Linked DNA regions of Homo sapiens: all the other regions are linked to region 2. The links are contacts of gene promoters, found by promoter capture Hi-C in blood cells and fetal thymus (Javierre and others, 2016). All regions are on one chromosome and are shown on one strand. Each heading gives the region's core, a stretch centred on a gene start or on the middle of the fragment in contact. The rest is flanking DNA. Distances are from core to core; before and after follow the strand shown. Region 1 has its middle 28 kb from the start of OR5J2. Region 2 holds the start of OR8J3 (olfactory receptor family 8 subfamily J member 3). Region 3 holds the start of OR5J2 (olfactory receptor family 5 subfamily J member 2).

Region 1 (3,454 bases), core at 645-3,144, 64 kb before region 2:
AAAATTTCAAAGTTAATTATAGATCAGAAAATCTTCATTTTAGAGCCAAGAGCCCCATTTGCATGTGTGGAGAAGCAGTGGCACCAGCGCAGTGGTGCGAGACACTCTCACCCCCCTCAGGAGACTTAGGGACGCACTGCCTCTGTCACCTGCTCAGCTCCCTGCCCGGGTGAGGAGGCCATCTTGTGTGGTTGAGTGTCTTGAGCTGAGGGCAGCAACTATGACTGAGTTGCTATTGGTGATAACAAAAGCCTCAGCAGGTGGGGAGGATGAAAGGTAGCTGGATGGAGCTGGGAGATGGGACACCACACAATATTAAACAGTTGAAGAGAAGGAATCGGGTTATCTTTTCAGTCAGCTACAATGGTAAGTTCTACAAGGATGTGATGGAGGTGGTGAACGATCAAAACTTGCCTATTTCAGTGATGTTCCTGTAGGTGCAGTGTACTCTAGGGTGGCTCATTCACAGAATCAGAAAAGACTTTACATCATGACACTTGGATATCTGGCACCTTACCAAAGGCTAGGAATAGGAACTACAATGTTAATTCATGTCTTAAACATGTGAAAAAGATGGCACTTTTGACATCTATCTGCATGTCCAGATCAGCGGTGAGTCGGCAATTGACTTCTACAGGAAGTTTGGCTTTGAGATTATGGAGCCCAAGAAGAACTACTATAAAACCGCAAAGCCTGCAGATGATCATGTCCTGCAGAAAAACCTCAAATTACCTTCTGGTCAGAATGCAGATGTGGAAAAGACAGACAACTGAACAAATTACCTTCTCAAAAGGAGAAAGAAGGAAAACTGAAGGCAATAATAACCTGAAAATCACGTGCAGTGAGATATAGCAAAAATTGAACTTCAAAATATGAATCTAAAATACTTTAAGAGGAGAAATCTACCTATAGAAGTAACATTCTCATTTTAAATAAAAAAATACAGCATTTCCAACCAGAAATTAGGAAAATTAATTGGATCTCAGAAAGAAATTTGGCAGAAATAGATAGTGTTTGCAGTTTAGAAAATGACTGTTACAGAAACAGATTTCAAAATTAAAAATCAAAACTTTTTGCAATTTTATTAAAAGCAAACCAACATTTCAATAAAACCATATTGTTTTACCATAAGGGACAAAGATTTAGTTTTATATTAGTTTATTTAATACTGAATAACTTATAAATATATTTATACATTTAGTTATAGAGAACTTGATTACAAACAAAATTTATTTTATAAATTCCTCTTTAAAATTATTTTCATGATTTATTCAGACCATTGTTGACATGTTTGGAATTTTAATTTTGTCCTGTGCTTGCTCCTTTTAAAATAAGCATTTTACTTTAGTACAAAAATTATCACACGAGATTTTTTTTCTACAAAATTTTTTAACCTTCTTTGCCAAAAATACATTTTCTTACCCATAACTTTTGTCACATCTCTCTCAACTATTTACTAGTTTTTGTCTTGTTTTAATTTTCTTCCTAAATCTATTTGTTGAAATAATCTTTAAAAAACCTCTGAATTATGCAATATTATTTTTAAAAGAACATATTTTAGGTTTGTAAATAGTTTTTTGTCAAAAAATCTTGTTTTTAATACATTTTCTATACAGAATTATATTGATTTTGACTGTTGTTGTTTTATTTATTTTTATTTTTATTTTTTGAGACAGAGTCTCGCTCTGTTGCCCAGACTGGAGCGCGGAGATGCGATCTCGGCTCGTAGCAGCCTCTGCCTACCAGGTTCAAGTGATTCTCCTGTCTCAGCCTCCTGAGTAGCTGGGATCACAGGCATGTGCCACCACGCCCAGCTAATTTTTGTATTTTTAGTAAAGACGGGGTTTTTCCATGTTGGCTAGGCTGGCCTTTAATTCCTGACCTCAGGAGGTGGCCTCCCAAAGTGTTGGGATTACAGGCGTGAGTCACTGTTTCTGTCCCAGAATTATATACATATTAATTGGAATTTTAACTCTTAGCAACCTAATTTCTACCAAGCAGTGTTAAACCATCTGTCATTTATCAGTATTTTATGGAATGGAAGCCATTTTATATATTTTGAAACATGTTTTCCTATAGCATAATTTTTGTATGTACTGATAGACTCTAGTATATTTACTATTTCTATATAATTTAAGAAACCATGAATAAAAGTATTTTGTTTAACAATCAGTTTGATTTTCTAAAATTTGCAAATGACCCAGTTATTTAGTGAATATTTATTACTTAATTTAACATAACATAACTTTACAATTTTAAATTACATGAAAAGTTTATTTATAAGCATTTATCTCATTTACTTAAATTTTATTTAACTTTAACAGTTTACCTGTGTTATCTATGAGAATTGACATATTAAACAAAACTAGAATATTTTTAAATTATTTTCCTATCAATTATTATTATAGCCTGTGACTCTCAGGTGTTCACTTAAGAACTTTAATTATATGAGTATTTTATCAATAATTCAAAAAATACAGTGGTTTTCATTAAACTGACAATATAAAATTACCCTTATGTATCAAAGAGTTACAGAAAGATTATTCTGGTTTAGGCTAGGTTTATAGTTTTACAACCTGTGTGTCAAATCTTGACACTTTAAACCATCTAGCCCAGACAAGTATAAAAGTGTCTGACCAGTAAATTCAGGCAGAAATGTATGTTTCCAATCCTGAAGATTTTTTTTCTTACTTTACCAATAATTTTAAAATCAGCTAATTTATTAAAGATATACCTATGTCACATGAACTAAAAGGCATTTGGTTAATTACTATATCATATAATTTTATATGAGTGCTCATTTATTTAAGCCAATTTAAATAAAATTTCATAATGAATGTCTGGCCAACTGCACTAGGTTTTACCATATAGGTACAACATACAACAATATATTTACATATCAATAAGTGTACCTAAACACATATATACACACAGTGATTTTATAGTCTTTATTTTAGTATTTGGTCATGAGACAGTAAACTATAGAAACTCACTGGTTTATAAAAAAACAGTTGGATTCAAATTATATTTTTTATAAAATTGGCACCTCCTCACATAACTAAATTTTATTTGCCTGATAGGCAATCTAATGAAGGCTGTCGACCAAAATTTTGTATAAAGCAGCACTTTCCATAGCAATTGGAATTTTTTTACACTATTTTTTCCTTTTTTCTCTTTCTTTTTAATTTTAAGTAAATTTAGGATTAAATATTTAAAACTTACATTTTTGCTAGGACTGGCTGAGTTGTATAAGAAAAACAAATTTAAGAGTAGCCTTGAATCTGTCTTGTGTTTCTTGACCAGACAAATATTAGCGGGAAACCATTTTAGTAAGTCTGGATTTTTTTCCTTTTTTTTTTTTCTTTTTCCTTTTGGCCCCTGATTGCAGACAATGTGAACTTTTATCTTATTTAACAAAGACATCTTATATTATTTCCCTGATCTTAACAGTTTG
Region 2 (3,918 bases), core at 1,267-3,766:
TGTTCTATGGATCTCTACTTTTTGATATGGATAAATGGCCTCCTTGTTCTACACTTTAATGATCCTCAGGTTTAACCTCTTGATCTACAGCTTTAGCAACTTAGGGGTTAAAAATGTCTTTTATAGAGTCTTTAAGAATTAGTGCAAACTTTGTCTTTACAGTACACTATGGAACATTGTTCCAATAAATTATGAGAAAATATTTATCACTTGATAGTGTTTCTAATAGATATAATTACATTCTTTATGACTCTACAAAAAGAACCATTTTAACACTTCAAAAATAGATTGTTCTCATTATAATCAGCCAATTAACCCTCATATTATAGAATTCAATTAAAATACCACTTCCTTCGAAAATGTCTTTCTTCTGATTTACTATTTTCTTTAGTGATCTCATACCTTATATTCTACCAGTGGAACACACATTAAGCTACATTTTAGTAAGCTATATCTTTATTTTGTAGGGGTTTTGCCTTTTTTTAAAATAGGATGTACATTCTCAATCTTGTTTTCATTTTATTTAAACAAAGTGAGTCAGACTCATGCAGATAGCATATATTTGGATCACGTGGTTTTTTTGGTTTGTTTAATTTATTCTGTCAATTTCTTTCTTTTAATTGGAGAATGTAATCCATGTCCATTTAAAGTTATCACAGATAATGGAGAACATCCTTTTGGCATATTGCTATTTGTTTCCTATAGGTCCTATCCTTATTGTTGGTCATCCTTTCCTCCATAAGTTTTCTTGAGATTTTGGCTGAACCCTAGACTTGTGCATGACATAAAGCTGTTAAAAGAATGACCAGGAAATTGTGTGCTGAAACATTTCATAGAAACTACACAGGGCAGGAAGACATTAGAATTCTAAAAAGTCATAGTGGAAAGTCCTTTTACAAGACATAGACATCCAGTAGAAATCTCAGGAACAAAGCTATTTTAAACCCCTTTGCCAGCTTGAAAACAAGTCTCGAATAGAGTCAACTGATAACTGACAGCACGACAAGGTGACTAAAGTCAATAATTACTTGTACATTTTAAAACATTTATCATTCTTTTAGGAAAACAAATTAAAATAAAACACAGCAATTATTCTTATAAAATTTACAATATTCAACATCCAATCACAAATTCTAGTCCTATGAGAAAGCAGCAGTGTGCAACCTTCAAAATGTTATTATAGATGTTGGATATACTGAATGATTTAGCACAAATACCAACACTGTGAGAAATAAATGAAAATACAATATTACATATGAACAAATATTTATTGAGTAAAAAACATACACTGAAAAAGAAAAGATGTGACTTGTCACAATAGACACTCAAAATGAAGCCAGAGAGAAACATAATACTAAAAACAAAACCCACTGAAACAGTCTCAGTCAACTATAGAACAATAACAAGATACCTACCACATGTTTAATTATAAGGTCTAAGTGGAAAGAAAAAACTATATTATAGGACAAGAAACAGGGAAAAAGATGTTGGCCAGAATTTCTAAGTTTATTTTTTAATAATGATGAAGATACAACAGGATAAAATAACTCCAAGCAAAATAAACAGAAAGAAAATGATGCCAAAGTGCTTCACCATCAATTATAAAAAATTTAATTATAAAAAATTATAAAAAATTCTTCAAAATTGCTAGTGATAAAAGATATAAACGAATGAAGAAATGTTTACCACTGATACATTGGCAGAAAAAATAAAAGTCATGACACTATGACACTTTCTTTGTTTTTTTTTTTTTTTTTTTGAGACTGAGTCTCCCTCTGTTGCCCAGGCTGGAGTGCAGTGGTGCCGTCTCGGCTCACTGCAAGCTCTGCCTCCTGAATTCACGCCATTCTCCTGCCTCAGCCTCCCAAGTCGCTGGGACTACAGGCGCCCGCCACCACGCAAGGCTATTTTTTTTATTTTTAGTAGAGACGGGGTTTCACCATGTTAGCCAGGATGGTCTCGATCTCCTGACCTCGTGATCCGCCCGCCTTGGCCTCCCAAAGTGCTGGGATATCAGGCGTGAGCCACCGCGCCCGGCCAAAGTCATGACACTTTCTTATGTCAACCAATAACTATATGTCTGGTAGAATTATACCATAATCACCAAAAGTATTCTTTGTCAATGGATGTTGTATTATCAAATTTTGCATGTTTTTTTCTAGAAAATTTTTTCTCATTTACTAACAAATTGCATATATGGGTGTCTGTGTGTGGTATACTTAATATGAGCAAAATACTGTGTAACCAAAATGCTGACAAAGTCATATTTATAATTTCCTGTGTTTAGTCATATTGCATAATTCAATTATTCAGTTAGACTGAAACATAAAATATTATGACTTTTTCTAATGGAAAATTCTGAGAATAATTAACAAATATCCAAGGCACTCTCCCTCAGGTAATTATGTACAATTTTTTATCCTTGAATCAGATTGAAACTTCAACTAAATGAGTCTCAAGGGTTTTAGAAAAAAACCTTAAATCTATTCTGTAGCCACCTGTGAGGGCTAAAGAAGTAGAAAGCAAAGCAGATTCTCTGTTGAAGTAAGTAGAAACATTGATCATTGACAATTTTCAAGGGCAGAGTTTAAACTAGGTTATCACCAAAGATGTTGAAGGCCCCTATACTCTGCAAAACTATTTCCTCCCTTGCAATATAGGGCTATTAACTTAATGTTTCATGCTTTTCAACTATTTTTAACAAGGATCTTTGTCTATCATTATTTACCTAGTGCCCCTCCTGTCCTATTCTCATTTCCTATCTATGCACGTTACAGCATTTATAAGAACATATTCTAAAGGCAGGATAACTTTATCTGAATGAAGAACAGATGTGGCATAGGCCATATTTTTTCCCAGATACGCATTTTCAAGAAATTAATTCTTGCCTGGAATCCTGGAATGCCCTTCCTGTGACTGATTAAATAGCTAATTCCTTCTCCACCTTTAGGTTTCAATTCAAATGCCACCTTCTCAGAAGAGCCTTCCTTGTAAAAGTATTAATATTAATATTCTATGTGATAGTACTCTCCCAGGTTATCCTAGTATATTATCTTGTTTGTTTTACCTATTATGCTTATTTAAATCTGCAATTATTGTGTTTATATGCCTTCTTAACAGATTTTTCTCTTCCCTATCATTACAATAACATATTCACGATCTGAGGGTCAGGTAATTTATCTGAAGCTCGAACATAGCCTGGAACAAAGTAGAATTTTAATAAATATGTGGAAAATAAGAGGATAATTCACAGAACCCACAGGAAAAATTTATGCTTGGTATCATCAAACAAACTGGTACCAGATATCCAACAACGTTAGGAGTCATTTTGGTGTTATTTCTCTGTTTTCTTTTTTTAAGTAGTCACTTCTTTATTTTTTCTCACTGTAGAATAATCATTTGTTTCTCTTTCTATTCTATCTCTTTTAGAAGGAGAGAAACTGAATAGCTCTGGGCTTTTAAAATTCAGATCTGTGTGATAATATATTCTTAACTTTCTGGAACTTAATTGTGAACTTTAAAATAAAGAACTATATGATAAGACTTATTTGGACCAGGTGCCCACCACTGGAACTATCAATTGTGACTCCAACAGGACATGAATTCACTTAGTTAGGGGCAAATAATCATGATTAAAATATACAACTCTAGGAAAGTGTTCATCCATACTAAAATAGCACGCTGAATCTATGGCAAATACATGCAACATAATTATCATAAAAACCCTCAAAATGAAGGTGTTTATTCCTGTTACAATAATATAAATATCAAAAAACGTAAAAAAAACAGATCAGCTAAAATTAAGAGCAGGTGTATTGTGTAAATTTAAGAAATATAACATTTTATAAACAAAAAATTGAATTAAAAGAAAAATCATGAAAAAAACACGGAGTATTGTACGAACTTTTAGCACAAGGA
Region 3 (3,585 bases), core at 676-3,175, 36 kb before region 2:
ATCATGATAGTAGAGTTCAAAAATACAGAAAAATACACTTAATTCAAATTAATTTAATATTAATGCAAATATTTCCTCAAATTTTTGCTAATGGCAAAAGTTAACATTACATAATGGAAGAAAACTATCAAATCTTAGAATGGATAATTACAGAAGTGAGTCAATGAACAGGTTTTAACTTACATAGTCTGATTTTAAGTATTTAATATATTCCATGAAATTTCTGTAAACGATAAATTTGTGGAATTTTAACTATCTTATTTGCAGTTTTTTATTTTAGATCTTTAATGATAGAAAAAATATTCAAAAAAGAGAGATAAAATGTGTTTTTAATTTTAAATACTTCAAAATGACTATATTATTCTATTCATGCAATTAAAATTTTTAAATCTTAAGCTAAAATTTTATGAGGCTTTTGCTATAATCTCAGAAGTAATCATAGGGATAGCTACCCTCTCTCTTCAGAGTTTAAATCATAGAGAAGGAGATTAACAAAAACATGTTTTTGAAAGAGCTGGAGAGAAAATAATCTCTTCAGTTTATTTCTATGAGGGGCCTGCCACTGTTTAAAATATTTAAATTATAAGTCAATGAAGGCACATTTCAGTTGTATAATTATATCTATTTTCTTGGAAATTCAAGGACTAGTTATTTTTTCCTACAAAGTACCCTATTTTTATATCCTTAAGTGCAAGTATTATTATAATTTTGTAACCCCAAATAACAGAAAAGAACAGATGTAATACTGTACTATGTATTGATTATTACGTGAATAACCTAGAATATCAGCATAACTAAGTGATAGATTGTTGTTTTTGTGTTGCAGGTATGTGAATTAAGTTTTCTCTTCTGGCTGCCTCCTGAAATGCAACAAAAGTATATAGAATGAGAATATCTGTAAAGTCTTGAGAAGCTTTGGCATTCACGGAATTCTTGGAAGTGAGAACTGAATGACAGAATGTTGTAGGATTAATAGTGACTTGAAATTAACAGAGGAAATGTTTCATTTCTATGGCCCTTTTCACTGCCTCCTTTACGTCCTTGTTTCTCAAACTGTGTATCAACAGGTTTAACATGGGAATCCCTAGCGTATAGAACATAGAAACCACTTTCTCTTGTTCCACAAAATACTGGGAGCTTGGCTGAATGTAGCTAAAGATTAAGGTACCATAGAATATGGTCACAGCAGTCAGGTGAGAGGCACAGGTGGAGAAGGCTTGCTGTCTGCCTGATGCTGAGTGGATCCTTAGGCTAGCAAAAGCAATGAAGATGTAGGAAATGATCACAGTCAAGAAGGTGGCCATGGCAATGACTCCGGAGAAGGTTAACAGCAACAACTCATTCATGGAGGTGTCAGAACATGACAGCTTTAGCAGTGAAGGAATGTCACAGAAGAAGTGGCTGACAGCATTTAGCCTACAAAAGGACAGTCTCCTCAAGCTGATTGTGTGGATTAATGTGTTAACTATTCCACCTATCCATGATCCTGTGACAAGCTCCACACACTTTCTATCAGACATGGCTACAGTGTAAAGCAAGGGACTCACAATGGCCACATAGCGGTCATAGGCCATCACTGACAGTAAGAAGCCTTCTGTGGTGATGAACACTCCGAAACACAAATGCTGTACCATGCAAGCAGAGAAAGAAATTGTTGCCTTCACAACCAGGAGGTTCACCAGCATTTTGGGTGCAATTGCAGATGAATAGCAGGCATCCACAAATGAAAGACAGCTGAGTAAAAAGTACATGGGTGTGTGGAGTTTGGAGGTGATTTGGATTAAGAGGATCATGCCCAGATTCCTCAACAAGGTAATGGCGTAAATCACCAGGAACACCACAAAAAGCACAGCTTTTAGTTCAGCATGATCTGTCAATCCCAAAAGAATAAACTCAGTGACAACTGTAAAATTATCATCAGCCATATGTTTCTTTCTTTTTCACAAAATCTACTGTGAAAAAAAGATAGACTCATAATTTGTCAGGGGGAAAATACATATATATTACATATATAAAGTATTTAAATTGATACATATTTTATACACATACACATGCACAAGGATAAAATACAGACAACTACTGATGTTGTTCTTCAGGTAAATAATCTTCTTTCTTGAATTCTGAGGATTTTCATCAATAAATTTAGCAAGTAGGCTAGACAGTCTCTAATATTTTTTCCAGTGACACTTTATGTGCTTATACCTCATAGAAATCGATGTGTAAAAATGATTTTTTCTCACAGCATCTGTCTCTGAAATGTCTAGCTCCATAACAAAGTGCCACCAAAACTGATAAAACACTAGTGATAATTTAAATGAACAGTATGTAAAATACATATTGTTAGAATATTAAATTACCATTCAATGAAACTCCTTTCTGGTAATTTTTTGGTTTGTTTTTGAGTAAATAAGAAAACTTTCTAAAATTGCCTGTATTTTCTATTTATAGAGGGAATTAATCTACAGTTGCATTATTATAGACAGCAAAGTGGCCACAATAATGAAGTAAGGTGGATCAGGGACCCACAGTGATGACATTGGAAAATGCCAGGGAGCCAGAGACTGGCCTCTGTGACTATGGGTGGCATGGTGTGGCAACACCAAACTCTGAAACTCATGAAATAACACCCTGTCTCTTGAATGACACCTACTAAAAGAAGTGGGGATTCTTAACTCTAGGTAATCCTCCCTGCAATCATGGTGGGAGAGTAGCCCTAATCATTTACTCTGAGATTGAGGACCTAGAATCCCACATATTGCATGAAATGGAGCCTTCCTGTTTTTTTTTTTTTTTTTTTTTTCTGAGACTTCAAATAATTTTAGGCAATAAAACAAACTCAATAATTTAGAACATGAATATATATACTCACCAAATATTCTGTGATACTTCTTCCTCTTATTCATCCTATAAAAGGTAGTTTAGACAATTTAAGACTTTCTAAAAATGTAATTTCAATTGGAACAATACACACCTGCACCTCCTATTCAAAGCTATTCACCTGTTTCATAATCAACTATCTCCCACTCTTATTTCCTATTAAATGGATTGTAGTTTTAGAAATGATGAGAAACAAATATTGATTCAGTCTATGTGTAATTTATACCCCTTATTAATTTTAATTAAAATATTTCAAAGACAACAATGGTGAAAAGTGAAAATACATAGTTGACAATAACTGGCTTTATTTAATTGGACAAGTTAACTTATTTCATCCAAGATATAATTATAATTACTTCTCTAGAATCCCTGAGTGTATTGAAGGAGTGTATTGAAAAATACTTTATTACAATGAAGTATTTTTGTTTCTTTAACAATTAACAAATTAGATAGTTACGTAAGTATATGAAGCATAACCAGATAGATAGATAGAACAGTGATAGACACTTAGTGTAATATATTTTGATTCACAGTGATCAGGTAAAGCTTTAAAAACTTTCTAATTGATTTCTTTGATGCAGCATTTCTGCAATGTTTAAGCACTATTTTTATTTATTTATTTTAGTAAATGTTTATCTCAAGTTATTCACTAACTAGCATTGTTAAATATAACGTGAAAATGCATATTTTTTAATGATTTTCTAAATG

Evidence for each region. Contacts are between HindIII fragments. The CHiCAGO score rates a contact against its expected background, and 5 or more counts as called.
Region 1: a fragment that was not itself captured here is called in contact with the fragment with the promoter of OR8J3 in region 2 in 1 of 17 cell types (neutrophils); the score reaches 5.8 in neutrophils.
Region 3: the fragment with the promoter of OR5J2 here is called in contact with the fragment with the promoter of OR8J3 in region 2 in 1 of 17 cell types (neutrophils); the score reaches 6.1 in neutrophils.

The regions. Positions count from the first base shown.
Region 1 is chr11:56,202,440-56,205,893 of GRCh38, reverse strand. It overlaps the pseudogene NAA50P1. Among named protein-coding and RNA genes, the nearest start is that of OR5J2, 28 kb to the right of the region's middle. The HindIII fragment of the contact is 4,198 bases long and covers 1-3,454 here.
Region 2 is chr11:56,138,799-56,142,716 of GRCh38, reverse strand. It overlaps OR8J3 (olfactory receptor family 8 subfamily J member 3), which reads left to right and starts at 2,516. Exons shown (of 2, transcript NM_001004064.2): 1 at 2,516-2,544. It also overlaps the pseudogene OR8K4P. The HindIII fragment of the contact is 14,492 bases long and covers 1-3,918 here.
Region 3 is chr11:56,174,958-56,178,542 of GRCh38, reverse strand. OR5J2 (olfactory receptor family 5 subfamily J member 2) reads right to left here and starts at 1,925. Exons shown (of 1, transcript NM_001005492.1): 1 at 987-1,925. The coding sequence starts at 1,925. The coding sequence ends at 987. The HindIII fragment of the contact is 2,510 bases long and covers 916-3,425 here.